3 separate regions of the Homo sapiens genome follow, and all the other regions are linked to region 2. Evidence: promoter capture Hi-C in 16 types of primary human blood cells and fetal thymus (Javierre and others, 2016). All regions are on one chromosome and are shown on one strand. The core of a region is centred on a gene start or on the middle of the fragment in contact, and the rest is flanking DNA. Distances in the headings are between cores, read along the strand shown.

Evidence for each region. Contacts are between HindIII fragments. The CHiCAGO score rates a contact against its expected background, and 5 or more counts as called.
Region 1: a fragment that was not itself captured here is called in contact with the fragment with the promoter of C1orf105 in region 2 in 2 of 17 cell types (naive CD4 T cells and activated CD4 T cells); the score reaches 7.0 in naive CD4 T cells.
Region 3: a contact is called between a fragment that was not itself captured here and the fragment with the promoter of C1orf105 in region 2, in 1 of 17 cell types (M1 macrophages). The highest score is 6.1, in M1 macrophages.

The regions. Positions count from the first base shown.
Region 1 is chr1:171,783,076-171,787,214 of GRCh38, forward strand. METTL13 (methyltransferase 13, eEF1A N-terminus and K55) reads left to right here. Exons shown (of 8, transcript NM_015935.5): 2 at 665-1,424; 3 at 2,804-3,003. Among named protein-coding and RNA genes, the nearest start is that of METTL13, 3.5 kb to the left of the region's middle. The HindIII fragment of the contact is 3,155 bases long and covers 1-3,010 here.
Region 2 is chr1:172,419,113-172,422,949 of GRCh38, forward strand. C1orf105 (chromosome 1 open reading frame 105) reads left to right here and starts at 1,573. Exons shown (of 7, transcript NM_139240.4): 1 at 1,573-1,794. The coding sequence starts at 1,774. It overlaps LOC102724528 (a long non-coding RNA gene), which reads right to left. Exons shown (of 3, transcript XR_001738294.3): 1 at 3,385-3,837. The HindIII fragment of the contact is 10,347 bases long and covers 1-3,837 here.
Region 3 is chr1:171,872,146-171,875,750 of GRCh38, forward strand. The region is part of intron 1 of DNM3 (dynamin 3); the gene reads left to right. Among named protein-coding and RNA genes, the nearest start is that of DNM3-IT1, 9.8 kb to the left of the region's middle. RefSeq lists an enhancer at 1-169. The HindIII fragment of the contact is 4,009 bases long and covers 155-3,605 here.

The DNA.
Region 1 (4,139 bases), core at 183-2,682, 640 kb before region 2:
TTGCCCAAGATCATGTCCAGGTGGTCATGTGGGGATTTAAACTCAGGCCTGTCTGGCTCCAGAGCATATGCACATCTCTTTGTACCATGCTTTTCCAAAGATGGCAATATCAGAATTTCTAAGTTTGAATGGGAGATTGCTCCCTGGAGAGGGAGACAACAATCTGAATTTTAAGTTCGGCTTCAGAAGATAGCCAAATATCATGAGATGGAATCCGTGATGGAAGTAAGATTTGAATCCTCACAAAGTGTACTTTATTGTCTAAAGGAGCCAAAGGCATGAGTAGAGTGAGGAAATAGGGTTATTCCTGGCCTAGGATTTCAACTGTAACTCTATATTTGGATTCTCTGACTTCCTATTAATTCCTGAGTAATAAGTGCATGATTTAGAGAAAAGAACAGTTATGATTAATTTGTTTCTGCAACACAAAGCCCATTCTCATATAACCTGTATTGTAGCTGAATGTGGTTTTCACTAGCAAGTATATGTGGTGTTTCAAGATAGAGTCTAGCATCAACTCTACAATGTCGCTCTTTCTCTGGCAGTAGCGTCTCCACCTTCTGAAAATGTGACTCAGCCAAGGTGAGACTTGATTCCTTGAAGTACCTGAAGTACAGTCCTTTGCTTTGATTACCTCCCTCTTGTCTGTGAATTTTTTCTCCAGGTGCTGGTGATTGGGTGTGGCAACTCAGAACTGAGTGAGCAACTGTATGATGTGGGCTATCGGGATATAGTGAACATCGACATCAGTGAGGTTGTCATCAAGCAAATGAAGGAATGTAATGCCACCCGACGGCCCCAGATGAGCTTCTTGAAGATGGACATGACGCAGATGGAGTTTCCTGATGCCTCGTTCCAGGTGGTGTTGGACAAGGGCACCCTGGATGCTGTCCTGACAGATGAGGAAGAGAAGACCTTACAACAGGTGGACAGGATGCTGGCTGAGGTTGGCCGTGTCCTGCAGGTGGGCGGTCGCTATCTCTGCATCTCCCTGGCTCAGGCTCACATCCTGAAGAAAGCAGTGGGCCACTTCTCCCGGGAGGGGTGGATGGTGAGGGTGCACCAAGTGGCCAACAGCCAGGACCAGGTGTTGGAAGCAGAGCCTCAGTTCTCCTTGCCTGTCTTTGCCTTCATCATGACCAAGTTCAGGCCAGTCCCTGGCTCTGCCCTTCAGATCTTTGAGCTGTGTGCTCAGGAGCAGCGCAAGCCTGTGCGGCTGGAGAGTGCCGAGCGGCTGGCCGAGGCGGTGCAGGAGCGACAGCAGTATGCCTGGCTGTGCAGCCAGCTGCGCCGCAAGGCCAGGCTGGGGAGTGTGTCTCTGGACTTGTGCGATGGGGACACGGGGGAGCCACGCTACACCCTCCACGTGGTGGACAGCCCCACTGTGAAACCATCGCGGGACAATCATTTTGCGATTTTCATCAGTGAGTTGGGATTGCTCCCTCTCTTCCCTGGAGGGGCTGGCTTACAGGGGCTGGGGCTTGGGCTGGGGCTGGGGCTGAGGCTGGGCTGGGGCTTTGGTGGGATTCTGGACTGTTTTTTGTCTTGCAGGGGTTTGTACTTCCAGAGGATTAGACTACCCAAGGCATGATGAAAGGAGAGTAATAGCTCTCTAGCAACCTACTTGGAGTTGAGACCTATTCCTTTTCATCTGCCATTGCAAAGGCTTGATGAAGTGTGAGAATGGGGTTGGTAGGGAAGAGAGAGAATAGAGATAAATTTAGGAGGTCACATATGATATAGAGATGCTAGTTACTTTGTAGCATGGAGTAATGGAAGTAATGCTGGACTAGCAAGTCTAAGACATAGGTTCTAGTCCCAGCTGTAGCCTGTGAGCTGCAGGACCTGGGGAAGTTGCTGTGCTTCTCTGCAAAATTTGGAGAGGCAGCATAGGGTAGCAGCTAAAAAAGTGAGCTCTGGAACCAGACTGTTTGGGTTTCAGTTTTGGCTCAGTCATTTCCTGATGGTGTGACATTAGACAGGTTACTTTTCTTTCTCTGCCTTGATGGGATTGTAACTCTGGTGTAGTTGTGAGAAGTATAAAAGCTCTTAGAAATGGTACCTGGCCTTGGAAGTGCTGTGTAAATGTTAGCCATTATTACTGAAAGCAGTAAGTTATATCAGATTTATCTTAATAAGGATAAAAAAGATAGTAGGAGGAAGTGCTTTCAAAAGTGGAACATTGTAGACAAATGCAAAGTGTTTATGGTCTTGGTGTTACGGTAATTTGTTTCCTGGTGACTGAGCTAGTTTTTCAAGTATTCTATAATTCTGTCTGTCCATGTGTGGAAATAAATAGTGCAGTGAATACAAGCGTGGGTAGAGTCTGGGGCTAGACTGCCTGGGTTTGAGTCCCAGCTTCACCATTTACTTATTGTGCGAAGTTGGGCAAATAGTGTAACTTCTGTTTCTCAGTTTCCTCATATGTAAAAATGGGAATAATACTACTACCTGCATCTTGGACTGTTGGAGGATTCCATTAATATATATTTGTCAACAGCTTGGAGTCATGCCTGGCATGGCTTATTTGTGTTGGCATTACTGCTGTTTTTCTTGTGGTAGGTGTCTGCCTCCTTCCCCTACGGACATGCCCACACTTCTTCTCCACCCTTGGTCCTGCCTTATGTCTGATGGGCTGCTTTGCCCTAGATGTTGTGAACTAGAGAATTGTTAGCTCCTCAGTGGGTCACAGTTGGGGAAGATGCTGGTCTTGGACAGGGACTGGCTCCCTGCCGTTTGGGCCATATTGGTTGTGGGCTTGATCACTTTCCAGGACTCCCTGTAACCAAGTTCTTTTTTCTAGTCCCTCAGGGCCGGGAGACCGAGTGGCTCTTTGGCATGGATGAGGGCCGGAAACAGCTGGCGGCCAGTGCTGGCTTCAGGAGGTTGATTACAGTGGCCCTTCACCGAGGTCAGCAGTATGAAAGCATGGACCACATCCAAGCTGAGCTGTCGGCTAGAGTCATGGAGCTGGCCCCAGCTGGGATGCCCACCCAGCAGCAGGTAACAAAGCTTTCGTACGGCTTTCATGGGTCTCTGAAGTCATGTTAGCAGCCAGGGAGGCAGAGGGAGCCTTGGCAGGAGCTAGGACTAGAGTCTGTGACTCTTCATCTAATCCTGGAGGGGTATCAGCAGCTAAGGGTTAAATGGCAGGGAAACTGTCCTTTGCCCCAGGCAATGAGAGGAAAGTGAGCACAGTAGCGTCTGTGTCTGGGGGAGCCTCTCAGAGTCCATAGACATGGCAGGATGGAAATGCTCTACTCATTGCGGGCTTCAGTTCTTCCTAATTTGAGTTGCTCTGACTGTGGATTTCTCCTTCCACACTGGACTTTCTTGGTCATTTTGCTTCTTAGAACTATCATTATCTGAGGGTATAAATGGAAGAGGGCCAAAACAGCTCAGCACAGTTATCCAGGTATTCACATTGCTGGTCAGGTGTTTTACTGGGAAGGAAACCGAAGGTTTTTGCCTAAGTGGTGATATGGTATTATCAGTTAACACCAACTGTCTTGTGCTATCCTGGTCACCATGGGTAACGAACAAGTGATTTTACTAAAAGAACTTCATGATGAGGAGTTGATCCTTTTTTTTCTTTTTTGAGATAGGGTCTTGCTCTGTTGCCCAGGCTGGACTGGAGTTCAGTGGTGTGATCACGGCTCACTGCAGCCTCAGCCTCAACCTCCTGGGTTCAAACCATCCTCCCACCTCAGCCTTTGGTAGTAGCTGGGACTATAGGTGCAAGCCACCATACCTGGCTAGTTTTTTTTTTACATTTTTTGTAGAGACAGGGTCTCCCTATGTTGCCCAAGCTTTGATCCTTCTTGATAGGTGGGAAAGCAAAGGTATCTAGAGGCTTGGTGCAAATAGTAACAGATCTGAAAAAAAAGAACCCAGGCTCCTGGGTTCCTGGCCTGTGGTTTTGCCCACTAGGCTGACTCGTGTTTACAGATGAATGTAAGTTTGATTCTTCCTGGCCAACTTTGGGGTTGATGACCCCTATTTCAAGGAAGCCCAGATCCTCTGAGGAGCTTCATTTGTGGCCTCTCACCAGTGCCTGAGTCTGCAGGGTCAGGAGATATTGGTGATTATTAACTAGTCTTATAGGTCTTTAAAAAAAGAAATAAAGATAGGGGGAAGGA
Region 2 (3,837 bases), core at 323-2,822:
AAATGTTTATTATTTAGGTAATATAGTACATTCCACCAAATATGTGATCTGAAGCCTTCCCAAAGGTTTAAGATTTAATTCAGAATTTTATTTTTTGAAAATTTATGTGGCCTAAAATAGAACTTGAAAGTAGTCCTTCTCAAATGAGATCACTTCTGAATGTGCTCCCCTTCAGCATATTAAGATGACAGAAAACTACATGACAAGAGAGTCAAAAAAATCATTCATCAGTTCTATTTACTTCACATCTGACCTAGGCAAGCCCTGGCAAAGGAGGTATTTGGAAGATGTGGGCAGGAACCCCCAGTTGTAAAAGGGAGAGTCCTCATTAGTAATGCTGTTTCTTCGGACCACAAATTTTTTTAAGGACTGAGTTCTCCACTCAAAAATGAAAAATCAGTTTCTTGGTTTAAAATGTTCATATGGCATGTTACATTATTTTAATTGTATCCCCGGTCCAGTGACTACCATTTAAAATCAGTGATAACTAAGAAAGTTCAAAGGCTCCAAACCAAGGCATCAACTGAAGCTCATGTATAGCAGGAAGGAGGTGACTTGATGTAAAATAGCACATAGCATGCAGTCTTTTGTCCTTTCCTTCCCCTCCAGTCCAGGCATTTGATTTTTAAATCAATATTCTTAGTGGATAGCATTCTTCATCCCAATAGACAAAAATGTACCTAGATGATTTCATACCACCTCCCCAAATGAAAACCGAAGTTGTCAAAGAGAAGGTTTTCTTCAATTCATTTTTTAAAAGTGTTTGGTACTTTTCCACTTTGTCTTAAACATGGACTTATTTTTATATGCAGTGTTACACAGTTTAGATGTATAAAACTTAAATTGACCTGATGAATGATGAGAAGGAAAAACTCCAGTCATAACAGAATGAAATGACAACCTTACTCAGTTTTCCTTAACAAAGAAGTGTGTTCCCTTCCTTACATTCTATAGGCAAGAAAAAAGAGGGCAGGGGAAAGGGATGGGGGGCAGCCTGGAGTAAAATTAAATTATGCTAAGATTTGTTAATATGTATTTAGTAAATAGTATTTCTATGTTTCATAATATACCTTTCCCCAACTCTTCTTACCTCCACCTCCACCCTGCTATGTTTAATAGACTTGAAAAATTACTCCCTTTTTCAGAGTTGATCATAACTCAGGATAGTCAGGAAGAGCCAAACTATTATGCCTTTAGTAAACATAATATTCCTTATATATTTTCATTCCTTTATTTATGCATCAAACATTTCTTGAATTCATGATAATGTCCTGGACCCTGGGAATACCAGAGAAGTAACAGAATAAAAGTAGCTTACAAAATAGCTAAATAAGCAATTACAATGTAGTGCTACAATAAGAGAAAAGTTTGGTTGTCTTTCCAGGGAGAACTGTTCTGACTTCAGTACTGAAGCAGCTATCTGAGTTTTAGTATACTGTTATCAACTTTACCCAACACATGCTAATGTTCCAGAACATTGTGATTTTGACTTCTAACAAAGAAAGGAATACTAGAACTCATTTCAGCCAATCAGAAACTGAGCTTTTCATTCTGAATGGAATTATATGATTCAAGATGTAAATCACACAGATGTTGGTAGAGAAAAAGGCATACTGGTATTGAAACTGTAAACTGGCCTGTTTACTTCGTCTCCTAACAAAAAACACTTTGGATTCAGGTTCTCCACAGCAGTCTTCCACTGGCCACAGTGAGGGGAGCTAGGTTTCCCCAGTCTCCAGCTAGAAAAACTCAGAACATCTAAAGATCTGAAAGATGGAAAAAAGAGAACTAAAGGTAGGAAAAAAATAAATGAAACTTCCAATTCTTTCCTTATGGGGTTACCCTGGTAAATGTTTGTATGCCTTGGAGGCCACATAAACATTGAGGGGTGTTTCAACAGACATCCTAGAAGTTGAAAGCCAAAAGAAGGTAAGGAAATAACAGCTGATGTTCAGTTACAGGTGAAGATAATTTTAATGGGTTTGGGGCATGATAAATTTCAATGCTCTTTATCGTATAGTTTGGAAAAAATGTTGTACTTGCCAACATCTTTTATAACTCAGCATTTAAGTATGATTTTTTTAAATCCTCAGAAAATTGATACCAGATTCTTTAGTGCAGTTCCCTGAGATTCTGAAGTAAACCTTCTCAACTGTGAATGCACTTTAAAACAATGAATCTCAGTCACAGGAAGTTAAGATTGCTGAGAAAGAAAAAAAAACTTGTATAGACTTTTATAATTACTAGGGTCTAAATCTGAATAAATCACATTGAGCTTATGACACTGTATGTTTCCTATTTAAAGGGATATACTAGCTGTCTCTATTACCATAGTACAGGTGCTCCTTGACTTATGATAGGGTTACATCTCAATAAACCACCACAAGTTGAAAATATTGTAAGTCAAAAATGCATGCAATACCCTGATGAACCCATGATAAAGTAAAAAAATCCTAAGTTGGGGAGGACGCAGAGCAAGATGGCCAAACAGAAGCCTTCACTGATTGTTCTCCATGCACGAACATCAAATTTAACAACTATCTACACAAAAAAGCACCTTCATAAGAACCAAAAATCAGTGATCACAAAGTGATCACAGTACCTGGTTTTAACTTCGTATTGTTGAAAGAAGCACTGAGGAAGATAAGAAAGACAATCTTGAATTGCTGACACCACCCCTCCCCCATCCCCTGGCAGCAGCCACATAGTGTGGAGAGAGAATCTGTGCACTTGGAGGGAGGGCACAGCGATTGTGGGACTCTAGAATTCAGTGCTGCCAATACGGGGCAGAACTTAGCTGTTGCCAATGGAGGGACCATTTAGACCACCCTTAGCCAGAGGAGAATTGCCCATCCCAGGTTTCAGAAACTGAGTTTTGACTACCTCCACCACCATGGGCTAAAGTGCTCTGAGGTCCTAAATAAACTTGAAAGCCTGTCTGGGCCACAACAACTGCAATACCCAGGCAAGTCCTAGTGCTGTGCTGGGCTCTGAGCCAGTGGACTGGGGAGCGCACGATCTAGTAAGACACCAGCCAGGATGGCTAAGTAAGTGCTTACAGCACCCCTCCCCCAACCCCAGGCAACACAGCTTATGGCTCCAAAAGGGACTCCTTCCTTTGCTTGAGGAGAGAAGAGGGAAGAGTGAAAAGGACTTTGTCTTGCAACTTGGATACCAGTTCAGCCAGAGTAGGATAGGGTACTGGGCAAAATCCTGAGGCACTCATTGCAGGCCCTAGCTCTTGGATGACATTTCTAGATATACCCTGGGCCAAAAGGGAACTGCCTTGAAGGGAAGGACCCAGTCTTGGCAGATTTCATCACATGCTGAATAAAGAGCCTTTGGACCCTGAAAAATCAGTAGCAGTAGCCAAGTACTACATACCGTGGGCCTCAGCTGAAACTCCGAAATGCACTGGCTTCAGATGTGACCCAGCACATTCACAGGTCTGGTGGCTACGAGGAGAGACCACTTCTGCTTGAGAAGAACAGAGGGAAGAATAAAGGGGACTCCGTCTTGAGCTTAGGTACCAGCTTAGCCACAGTGGGAAAGAGCACCAAGCCAGCTCTTTGGGTCCCTGATTCCAGTCCTTGGCTCTTGGATGGCATCTCTGGACCTATTCTAGGCCAGAGAGGAGCCCACTGCCCTGAAGGGTAAGTCACTTTCCTGGCAGCATCCAACACATGCTGGCAGAAGAGCCCTTGGGCCTTAAGTGAACATTGGCAGTATCCCAGCAGTACTCCTCATGGGCCTGTGGTGGTGTTGGACATGAGAAGAAACTCCTTTGCCTGGGGAAGAGCAGGAAAGGGTGGGAAGGACTTCAGTGGTTCGGGTGCC
Region 3 (3,605 bases), core at 909-3,408, 550 kb before region 2:
CATCACATTTGAGTTAGTGCTTAAAGAATAATTTTAACAGGATTTAAGAGTGTACTTCTTTATAACAGAAAGTTGAATTTGAAATGACTCTCAAATCCTATTCATTATATAGGCTTTGCAGTGAATTACCAAATGGTATATTTTGAGATGAAAAAGCTTCTTTGTTATCTCCCACCCCAAAATAGTTTTTCCTTTTTTTTTCCTTTTTGCAGTTCTCCATCATTTGTTTTTTCATATTTAGATCTGGTCTTCCTAAAGAGTTTATGAGGATAGAAACTGTGCCATATACTTTACTGGATCTCCTGTAGTGCTAGGCATATTGGACCTTAGATATTTTCAAAATAATGTACGTAGGAATGAATAAGCTATTCTTAGGCGCAAATTGTTTGTTTATTCTTTTTGTATTAGCATTTCCTAGGAAAGTGAAGTCAGGATGTTAGTAATGAGGACACCAAGAGGATGTCCCCGCTAGTCTCTCGGCATGCTGGCCAGACCCTGGTTGTGCTCTGTCTGAGTCCACAGAATCACATTGCTTTTCTCCTAGTCCCTATCTGTAGGTAAGAGAAAATGTGGAAAGTCGATGTTTGCTCTGGAAGTTATAGAAATTTCCACTCAGAAGGTCCTTCTTTCTGAAGAAATGTTTGTTTTTTTTTAATTCAGGTCCAATTTGGACAAGATACTCTTGCTTTTTCGAGTCAGTTGAAGAGCAAGATAACAGGTGAAAAGTATTTCAAGAGTTTAGATCAAACTTGATAATATTTGTAAAAACATGAACTGTAAAGTATTACAGAAATTGTTATTCTTTTGTTGTTATTAAGATTGAAGGAGGAGCAGAATCATCCCATAATTACTCCTGGGGGTCTGAGTCTTGTGTTTGATTAGCTTTAACTCACATTTTGTTATTGTAGTTATCAGATGGATTTGGATATTTGTAAGATATAAAGGTGTCTATTCTTTAAGAAGTCAAGTTGAATCATATAAGATAAAGAGATCTTGAAGGGAGCTTCACTAGCTGTGAAGTTGTCCAATCTCTATAAGTGACACATTTCTCATCAGAAAAATGATCTGTATTTCCCAGGGTGTTGAAGAGTTCCTTTAGTGGGTTTGAAGGGTACAGCATGGTGCCTGACCTGTAGTAGGTGGTCCATAAATGTTAGCTATAAAATATTACTATTATTTAAAAGGTTATTTAAAACCCTGAATTCAGCAGACATTTATTGAACACCTACTGTGTGTCAGGCACTGTTTTAAGAGCTAGAAAAAAGCCATAAAGCAAACAAAGATTCCTGTGCTTGAGGAACTCAGGTTTTAACTGGGGAGATGGATAAGCAATACCCAAAGTAAATAAGTAAATTATGTGGCAGATTACAAGATTATTAGGGCCATGGACCAAAGGAAAGGCAAAGCAGGGTAAGGGGGATCAGGCATGTCCAAGAAGAAGAGGTGAGATTTAAGCAAGGACTTGAGGGAGGTGACAGCATTAATTGTGTCTCATCTCCTCAGTCAAGAGTTGATGTTTCAAATGGCAAGATAAATGACTGTAAAAATGCCTGATGTTCTTAACTATTAGACTTAAACCATACGAAAAACTGTACGCTTTTTCTTTTCTCGTTCTCCACGAAGTAAGAAAATACTGTCCCTTTCTTTTTCCCCTCAATGACAATAAAATAAGTATCCCTGATGATATTATCAAATCCTTTTTAGAAGCTGTTTCCTTTACTTCCTAATGGATTTAGCTCTAATCCAAACCAGAAGCACATTTTGAGTCTTTTCTGATATGACATTATTACAGTGAGTGGTTTCTATTTTTCTTCTAAGTGTTGCTTGAACACAGGAAAGGAATGTGAGAAGACCTCTTGCCACAGCTGAAGTATATATTAGAGTACATTATTTAGTAAACGGTAGACAGTTCTTTCCTTGAAACTCATTTGAACATTTATTGTAATGTGAACTAAGTTTTTTCAATTCCTAATTAGAGATGGTAGTTTTTCTGTATTTTAAAATTGGATATCACATCCATGTACATATATACAAACACACATAAATTTCTCAGATATTAAAATGGGATGTCACTAATATGCATATATGTATATGCATCTATATATACATATGTGGATATGTGTAGATATACACATATGCATAGTTTAGTTGATTAGGTTAATTATCTCTTAATTAATTTCTTAATTATTTCAAAGAATTGGGGAAACCAGCAGTTTTTATAGTTAAATATTCCTTGAAATGAAATTAATTGTGGCATTGGTACAAGTCAAAATAATTCAGTGTTTTGGTAGTGGTAGTATCTGTGATAGTCTTAGGCTTAGATATTGCAGTGACAAAGTATCCAGTGGTAGAGTTGATGAAATTGTATTTTTATAGACGTATTTGAGGCTATTATGCTTTTATCATCAAAATATAATATTCATATAGTTCATTACATGGCAAATGCACATGTATGATTAGTGAGCCTGGATTAGTAGCCTTGCTACTCTTGTACTTATTCAGCCACCTTAAAACATAATGTCAACTTTTATTTTAGATCAGGGGGCATATATGCACGTTTGTTACATGGGTAGATTGCATGATGCTGAGGTTTGGAGTATGAATTATCCTGTCACCCCGGTAGTGAACATAGTACCCATAGTATCCAGTAGGTAGTTTTTCAGCCCTTCTCCCTTCCTTTACTTCCCCATCTAGTAGCCCCCAGTGGCTATTGTCATCTTTATGTTCATGAGTACCCAATGTTTAGCTCCCACTTATAAGTGGGAACGTGCAGTATTTGGTTTGCTGTTCCTGTGTTAATTCACTTAGGATAATGGCCTCCAGCTCTGTCCATGTTGCTGCAAAGGACACGATTTTGTTCTTTTTATGGCTGCATAGTATTCCATGGTGTGTAGCTATCATGTTTTCTTTATCCAATTTACTGTTGATGGGCACCCAGGTTGATTCCATGTCTTTGTTACTGTGAACAGTGCTGCGATGAACATATGAGTGCATGTGTCTTTTTGGTAGAGCAATTTATTTTCCTTTGGGTATATGCCCAGTAATGGGATTGCTGGGCCGAATGGTAGTTCTGTTTTAAGTTCTTTGAGAAATATCCAAACTGCTTTCCACAGTGGCTGAACTAATTTACATTCCCACCAACAGTGTATAAGCCTTCCCTTTCCTCTGCAGGCTTGCCAGCATCTTATTCAGCCACTTCTAGAGTTCATTATTACTTTGTCTGAATTGTTTGTACCAAAGTTACTTAAAAAGCCAGTATTATTTCATTGAACTCATTGTGCTGTTGTACCTTTTTTTCTTTGTCTTTTTAAGATGAGTTGGAATATAGTATGTAAAAATGACACATAAGTTAGATTTGGCATCTGAAGGAGTAAACCAAATATTTACTGGCAATAGAGTGTGCCATAGCATTTGAGAGCATTGGAATGAGCCTGAATACCTGGGTTCAAATCTCACCTTGCCACTTACTACCTGGACAACCTTGGGGAAGTTAATTAGCCTTCTAGGCTTTACTTTCCTCATCTGCGAAATTATAAAAATAGTAGTACCTACCTTACTGCATTGTTTTAAGAATTAAGTGAGTTGCTATTTGTAAAGCACTTAGT